Linked DNA regions of Homo sapiens: regions 1 and 2 are each linked to region 3. The links are contacts of gene promoters, found by promoter capture Hi-C in human tissues and cell types (Jung and others, 2019). All regions are on one chromosome and are shown on one strand. The core of a region is centred on a gene start or on the middle of the fragment in contact, and the rest is flanking DNA. Distances in the headings are between cores, read along the strand shown.

Region 1 (2,700 bases), core at 122-2,621, 55 kb after region 3:
TAAGTACCACCCAACTCTAAAATATGACGGGAGGCTCTAATCTCTTATGGTTTACATGTGCTTCTGCACTTTCTCCCCCTATAAGACAGATGAGAGTTATGCTACACAAGGATTATTTTCCTGCTTCAAAGAAAGGTTCACAAAGTTGGTGGGAGATCATAAGGGCAGGTAGGAGATGAAGCTGAGACTAGAATGCAGGTCTTTTAATCCCTGCACCCACTACTCTTGCAGAGTTTAAAACAAATTCTGGTTTAGCAATCCACCACAAAAGAGTTGTGGTGCCTGAGCACCATTGCAAAACTATAAAAAGAAAGCTGAAATGATACACATTTGAGACAAGCAAAATCTTTCTTACAGTCTTAGGTTTGTGATATCTTAATGTGCTTTTGATTCTATTGATCATGAAATCACATTCTACCTACTGAAGCCAATTTCACAATAACACTGATTTAAATGATCTTTGTAGCATTACAATATGTAATTTTTATTTCAATAAGATTAAGAGTATCATGAAATTATGCAAACAAGGCACAATATTAAAACTCCAAAAAGTTAGGAAATCGTTACTATCCAATGGGACTGACAAATTCACTGTACACCAAAGAAATGTACTTAGAAATAATCACAGAATTGTGCCTTGTTAGCTTTTCTCCATGTACCATAGTTGCTGGAAATATTCGTAGAGGATGCACTCTTCTATTCCACCGATACAAAAACCTCTAAAACTAATGCTTTCGTAGAATGTATAAACTATACATAACATTTTTATGTATAAATTTTATATACATATATAAATTGTATATTTTCTTTGGAAGTTCTTTTTTAACTAGAGAAGGTATGGCATTTATATTTATTTTACAAATCTGGCAGATTTGACTAACAATCCCTTTATTCTTTGTGAAATGTGTCTTGTCCTTCAGGGTTTGAGCATTGATCCTTTTGAGCATGAAGAAACCTGAAGCTATTAGATAGTGTGAAAGCAACGAGTCAACCAGCCTGCCTGCGACCACGGACTCAGGGAGGGCAGTTAGACAAAAAGTAAAAAGAGATGAGTTTGGCTGAGTACTGATATTGCTTTGAAGGCTATGCTGAAGTTTTTTAGTTTTCTAATTATCTAGTTAATAAGACTGTTGACAAGGAAAATATATCTGATTTGATGCAAAGAAAAAGAAATCTATGTCCAAAAAGTTAAAATTGCTAAGTGAAATACAACAAATAAAGTAAATTTTGACATTTCACACACCTCGACTTGTAAAGAATGAAACCTCATACATTTCCCCCACAGCAGCATTTTTTACACCTTGAATAAAGGTATTCAGTTACCTTTAGAATTATAGATTGAGCAAAATCACATAATTTTCTCAAAACAAACCAATCAGTTTTCCTTTCATAAAATTAAACCTTTGATAAGTATATTTTTAACAAATTGGGCAATTTCATTACTGGATCATGAGGCATTTATAAAAATCAATTATTTATTAAAAAAAATAAAAGAGGCTGGTGCAGTGGCTCACACCTGTAAACCCAGTACCTTGGCTGGCCAAGGCGGGCAGATGGCTTGAGTCCAGGAGTTCAATATCAGCCTGGGTAACATGGCAAAACCCTTTCTCTACAAAAAATACAAAATTTAGCTGGGTGTGGTGCGTGCCTGTAGCCCCAGCTACTAGGGAGGCTGAGGTGGAAGGATCACTTGATCCTGGGAGGTTGAGGCTACAGTGAGCCATGAACGTGCCACCGCACTCCAGCCTGGGCAACAGACAGAGAACCTGTCTCAAAAAAAAAAAAAAAAAAAAAAAGAGGAAAGGAAAGGGAGGGAAGGGAGGGGAGGGAGGGGAGGGAGGGGAGGGAGGGAAGGGAAGGGAAGGGAAGGGAAGGGAAGGGAAGGGAAGGGAAGGGAAGGGAAGGGAAGGGAAGGAAAGGAAAGGAAGTCAGGCGCGGTAGCTCACGCCTATAGCTTGGACACTCTGGGAGGCTGGGGTGGGTGGAGCGCTCGAGCTCAGGAGTTTGAGACCAGCCTGGGCAACATGGCAAAAGCCCATCTTAAAAAAAGAAAAATAATTTTAAAAAAGAAAATAAAGGAACCTAGAAAAATATGTCTGTTCTTCAAACTTTTTACTTAGTCACCTTCACAGTTTCAAAAGTAAACTGATATACATTTTTAGGTATAAAATTATGCTTTATTTCTCAGGCAGAGCCTGAGAACAGAGTTATGCCTTTATTCTATTGTTTTTCTGTTACTTTTTCATATTCCCCCCAGATCCTATCATCTGACCCACAATAAAATAGGAAGGAGGCTAGGTGCTCCCTCAGTGCCTCCAAGTTCCCTTTTTCCCATTTTCCCCCTCCAGAAATATGTTTCACACCTCTCATTCTACCCTGTTTCACATTAAACTGGCTCTCTGTTCCTTACCAGATCCCTGTATCAAGTGTGCTCTGTGGAGAGTGTTAAATCAGCCATTGGTACCTTAGCGCAAATATAAGCCAAAGGACGTGTATTTTTAGCATTAGCATTAATTGTAGAGCTATAGACATTGTGCACTATTAAAAGTATGTCAAATATCAGCAGAGAAGGAAGAAGAAAGAAGGGGAGAGATGGGACCAGGAGCAACAAACCCAAATGCAAGCTTGAGTGAGTGCCAGGGACTCCATCAGAGGCGGCCATCTTGAATATCTAATTCTGACTTTCCTCCCTGCAGACTG
Region 2 (2,700 bases), core at 100-2,599, 34 kb after region 3:
ACTTGAGAGCAAGTACCAGCCTTTTTTATTTCCACTTGCACCTAGCAAAATTTTTCCACAAATTTAAAACAAAGTAAGTGCTACTTAACTAAATAATAATTTCCCCTGGAATCTCCTAATATCAACCTATTCCATGAGGGATCATTTAGAAATGCCCTTTAGGAATCCATATAAACATAACATTCTGAAAATTTTCATAAAATATCTGAGGCAATTAAACTATAACAGCTTTGTGTTAGAACTTCAAATAATTTCTAAGTGACTGTATTTTTTTCTGGATTGTCTTGGATGTTTGCTTTGATATCTCATATTTATTATAATCTTTCTTCTCATTTGAAATCAAAATTCATTTGTTACTAAAAAAAAATAAGGGCAAAACCTCAAATCCAAACACCTCTCTTTTAGAGTGAGGTGGTATGGCTCCCTGAGGAGTTTCTAGTTGGCTAAAGTTGTGTAACATTCTATCTTCTCTACAATCTCCAGACATGCCTACAAAAAAAAACAAAAAACAAAACACATAAAACAAACTGCAGACACAAAATGTACCTGGGTCAAACTGAATCAGTTTAGATGGAATCACGGTGAAATCTTTTCCAACTGCAGCTGACACTTGGTTGACCTTAGGAGGGAAAAAAAAATCTTTTTAAGATAAAAATAAATATTCTACAATAGAGAAACAGCTATTCTCCCTCATACTGGACTAAACTCATGCTCTTAAATCTGTTTTTAATATTAGGTAGGGTTTTTAAAAAAATTATATAAGCCATTTGGGATCCAGGCAACATGCATTTTCCTTAAAGTTGACTTTTTCCTAGGCTAATATCAATGGAAAGGAAAGCTTTTGTTTTGTTTGGTTTTTCCTTTATAAATGATTTAGTTATTGAAGAAAGGAACATGAATTTTAAACTATATTTTTGTCTTTGTTGCAAGCACAATTTTATTACCTTCCTTCTATCCCAATTTGGTTTTAAAATAGTCCCTCAAAAGAAAAGGAGGGAGAAAATTGATGAGGAGAAGAAAAAGCAGGTACCCCTGACAACCCATGTGATGATCTGTCAGCTAGCTTGGAGGTATCCTGCAAGCTCCAGGGCACTGAAAGCCTTTAGACTAGATTAACTCAAACACATCTGGTTCATTTTCCTGTCTGGATGAAGCCATTACTCTTCACAAACATGAAAGGAGAGTTTTGTGGAACCGGAAGACCTGGTGAACAACCAGACAAAGGAGATCCACACCCAAAACCAAGGACTTTCAAGGACCCCGTCAGGTAGGTGTTTTAAAACAACAACAACAAAAATGCCCTAGTCTAAGGAGACTATTGATACACCCCTGCTTCTCAGCTCCAGCCCCAAGACTAAAAACCAAAGAGGCGATTTTAGCGCTCTGAAGTCATGGCCTTGAATTCCACCCAAAGGGTGCCCAAACACATGTTAAGAAGTGTCCTTGAGCCGGCACGGTGGCTCACGCCTGTAATCCCAGCACTCTGGGAGGCAGAGGTGGGTGGATCACTTGAGGTCAGGAGTTCAAGACCAACCTGGCCAACATGGTGAAACCCCGTCTCTACCAAAAACAAAAAAATTGGCCAGGCATGGTGGCGGCCGCCTGTAATCCCACCTCCTGGGGAGGCTGAGGCAGGAGAAGAGCTTGAACTTGGGAGGTGGAGGTTGCAGTGAGCCGAGATGGTGCCATTGCACTCCAGCCCGGGTGATAGAGTGAGATTCCATCTCAAAAAACAAAAAAAAAGTGTCTTTGGCTGATTTGAAAAATAAGTCATCAAATGAGAACCGTGTGCAAGCATTTCTGTTACTTGTGTGTATTTTTTAGATGTTTAAGATGGTCAGGAATGTGGGATAATATATTTCTGTACCTTCTGACAAAAGAATGAAGTGCATAATGAAAAGCTGAAAAATTCCTACTTCTATGGCCTCAGACAATATGTCCATTTCAAATCAAAGGCCCCCTCATATATTAATTGGTTAGCAGTGGAAACATTTTGCTGGAAAAGGGGATTACCTTCCTAAGCTTCCATTTGCTCTTTGTCTACAATGCCAAGGCTCCTCTGGAACCACCTTTCATTGTGAAAAGGCAGCCCATTATACACCTGTATCCACCATATGCTGGAAGTTGCATTTCCCTGCATGGTTCTTGCATGTCCAATTACCTAGTATTTACTACCACTGAGTTTACAGAATCCTATGTGGGAAAAGGAATGGTCTGAGGCAAGGTGGTTGGAGAAATCAGTCAGGTGAAGGTGCACAATTCAAACCAGGGCAATCCACACAGGGTAAAAGCACCACCTCTTTCCCTGCTCCCAGTCAAGCAGCCAAGCTCTAGTGTAAGGCTGCAGGTTGTGCTCAGGGTAGAGTTGTCCTGAAAGACTCTGGGACTGTGCTTGATGAAGGCCTGCACACTCAGCTGGCACGTTTGTTGTGCACTTTCAGCATAAATAAGCATAAGGTTCCATGTAACACCATGCCTCTTCTTTCTACCTGGCAAGGTGAATGGTGGCGTGGCCCAAAACTCCAGCCTAGAGCATATGGTGCTTTCTATGGAGGACGGGAGGATTATTAGAAAACCATCCAGGCAGATTCTTCCTTATTCCATAAGCAATCTTCTGGAAAACTATAGGGCATGCCAAGTTTTCTCCTGTCTTAATAACAAAAAAGTAACCAACAGATCTAGGAAAAAGGACCTGTGTCC
Region 3 (2,700 bases), core at 177-2,676:
CAATTTTAATTTAACATTTGGAATGTAGATATTGCCAGAGGAAGTAGACAGTAGGATGTCCCTTTGTCTTAATAGCATGGAATTGATCATAATAACTACAAATCAGCCAACACAACATGAATCAGGAGAAAGGTACTTCTAAGGGGAGGAGATATGATCTCACATCAAGATTGATTTTTTAAAAAGCTCATATGAGAAAATAAGTGAAAGAAAATCACTTTTTTGCTATCATAATACTAGAAATGATATGACAACTTTTGCCTGAGAACCTCAACGTACTTTGAGGTTGTGGGATAGCTTTAGCAAGCTATTAAAGAAGTCCCTCATAAACCTATAAAGTAATTAAGTATGGACTATGGGGATTAAGACCATCGTAAATGGATATGAGAGTATTTGGGAAGGAGTCCAATGCACCCCACTTTATCAACAAATGGAGTTGACCTGCTCATCCACATATTAATAGAGTGCAGAAAGATAGCTACAGAGGAGTTCTGGTGATTACTCTAAATTCTCAGTTTCCTAACTGAGGGTACAGTCTGACTTATATCTCTGAGTAGATCACCTCCAATGCAAAAATAAATAAATAAAACAGAGCTCTGTGTCTTCAGTGTGAATGAATGATTACTGATATTGACAGTATCATCATATCATTCTTGCAGCATTTCCACAATGCCAAGAAAAAATGGAAAGGCCAGAAGGAAACTTAATCTTTGCCAAATCCTATGATGAATGCCCAAGGACCAAATCTGTAGTTAAGCTAGAGTCAGGCTCCTGACAGCCTTTTCCCCTACTCTCCATCCATCCCAGCTGTCCACTACCACCTGCAAACTCTTACCTGCTCTCCCCCCAGAACACATACCTGGCTGAAGGGCACTGTCCTGCAGGTCTCCCAATGTACTTCATGGCTTTTGATGGGCAAGATGACCCCCTGAGAAGCCGGAGTTTTTCTGAACATGAAGTGGTGCCAGAATTTCTTGGCTTCTTCCCGAAGAGGAGATTTCTCCATTTTCATTCCATCTATCGGCTGGATGAGGGACTGGGTCCCAGGTGGGAAGGGCTCACTATCTGAGTCCCTGGATGGATGCATTTCTCTCTCAGGCTTCTTCCAGAACCTGCCAAATCTGGACAGCATCTTCTCTCTCTGCCTCTGGCCTTCCCCTGCAGGGCTGGTGGCTACAAGGTGTGGCACTGCGACAAACAGATCTGGCTTCTCCTCAGCTTCCTCATGGTTGCCTGTGGGAAGCTCTCTTTGATTCCTTGGCAGGAGTACGGGGGAAAGAGAACTCTGATTCTGGCGGCCATCCTGGTGCCGTGTGGTCTTTCCTAGAGGCAGGAGTACCAGCAGCTGAAATAAGAGGAGATGCATGCTGTCAGGGGCCCAAGCTTCTTTTGTAAATGATGAGGCCCAAAGGAGAGGCTCATTCTCTGCAGGACTGGGAAAAAGGAAATCGTATATATAGATACCTGCCTGGCGGGATGGGAAGGCAGGTGGTCAGTAGCCAGGCAGAATAAACACATTTATTGTTTGCTTGAATTATGTAGTGCTAATGGCCTCCTGCCGTCACTTTGGTTTTGTGTATTTTAAAAGGCCCCAGTGAAAGCCTGGGACCCAGGGGGTAATTAGCTAAGAGTTTAGCTATGTCTGGGGCTTAAAGAGCAGTATTAGCAAAGACAACACATTCTTTGCCTAAATTTCCCATGGCTGTTTTCAGAAGAAGGACTAGAGTCAGCTCACATTTGCTGTGCATCTGCCTTGTGCTGGAATAGAATAGACAAGACATGTTGCTGTAAGAGAAGTTTTTGGATAAAAATTAAAGGCATACATTTAGAAAAAGCCCAGGCCTTTAGGAAGGCTATTCACACACACACACACACACACACACACACACACACACACACACACACGAAGAAGTATATCAAAGTTGTAAGGAGAAGAAAGGAAGAGCTAGAAGGATGTTAATTTTTTTGAGCAAGGGACATATTGTTTCTTACTTACATGCAAATTGGGGTTATTGATTTTTGCACAGTAACTGAGTAAAGGGAATATGTTTTCCTTTCCACACGTAGAAACTCACAATTCCCAAGTTAATCCTCTCACATTAAGAATCAATTAATGGGTGCTAAATTTCACAACTGGTCAGTCATCAGATAAACTCTTCCAATTGTTCACATGTTCCTCAACAGGATACCACGTAATAGACTGACAGCTCATCAGTCTTCAATGAGGATAGGGAAATGTCTCCCTCCAGCCATCCTATTGATTTTTTTTTCCCTTTGAACAAAGAGCCAGACATGAGAACGTGGATTCTAAGAACCAGGTTTGATAACTTTGTGTGTGACGCTGGCTAGTCAGTTTCTTACCTTATTGAATCCACATCATCTCCCCTTGTTTTACACTAATTGATGGCCAGGCTAAATAAAGATTGACACAAATAAGAGTCTTCGGGGATCAAAGGAAAAATTGAAAAATAACTATCATTCAAAACTATCATGAATCAGCCTAGGATACGAAAAAGAAACACGTCCAGAAAACTGAAACCCCAGAATAGAGTCCGATCAGCCTACCACATGATTCAAACAGTATTTCCACTGGGAAGCAATGCAATATCTGCTTTTATTTCTCCCCTTTTAATTCAATCACTATATTCCTTGCTTTCAATAACACAAATAGTCCTGGAACATGTTCCCCCTTTTTTGTCA

What was found. The method cuts DNA at HindIII sites, captures the fragments that hold promoters and counts their contacts. A contact is called where the count stands out against the background at its distance.
Region 1: a contact is called between a fragment that was not itself captured here and the fragment with the promoter of CER1 in region 3, in 2 of the 25 tissues and cell types used here (mesendoderm cells and thymus).
Region 2: a fragment that was not itself captured here is called in contact with the fragment with the promoter of CER1 in region 3 in 7 of the 25 tissues and cell types used here (H1 embryonic stem cells, bladder, heart left ventricle and 4 more).

Annotation. Positions count from the first base shown.
Region 1 is chr9:14,776,835-14,779,534 of GRCh38, forward strand. The region is part of intron 24 of FREM1 (FRAS1 related extracellular matrix 1); the gene reads right to left. Among named protein-coding and RNA genes, the nearest start is that of CER1, 55 kb to the left of the region's middle. The HindIII fragment of the contact is 3,379 bases long and covers 1-2,700 here.
Region 2 is chr9:14,755,828-14,758,527 of GRCh38, forward strand. It overlaps FREM1 (FRAS1 related extracellular matrix 1), which reads right to left. Exons shown (of 37, transcript NM_001379081.2): 29 at 547-619. Among named protein-coding and RNA genes, the nearest start is that of CER1, 34 kb to the left of the region's middle. The HindIII fragment of the contact is 4,137 bases long and covers 1-2,700 here.
Region 3 is chr9:14,721,307-14,724,006 of GRCh38, forward strand. It overlaps CER1 (cerberus 1, DAN family BMP antagonist), which reads right to left and starts at 1,427. Exons shown (of 2, transcript NM_005454.3): 1 at 860-1,427. The coding sequence starts at 1,366. RefSeq lists enhancers at 575-1,514, 1,515-2,452. The HindIII fragment of the contact is 6,126 bases long and covers 286-2,700 here.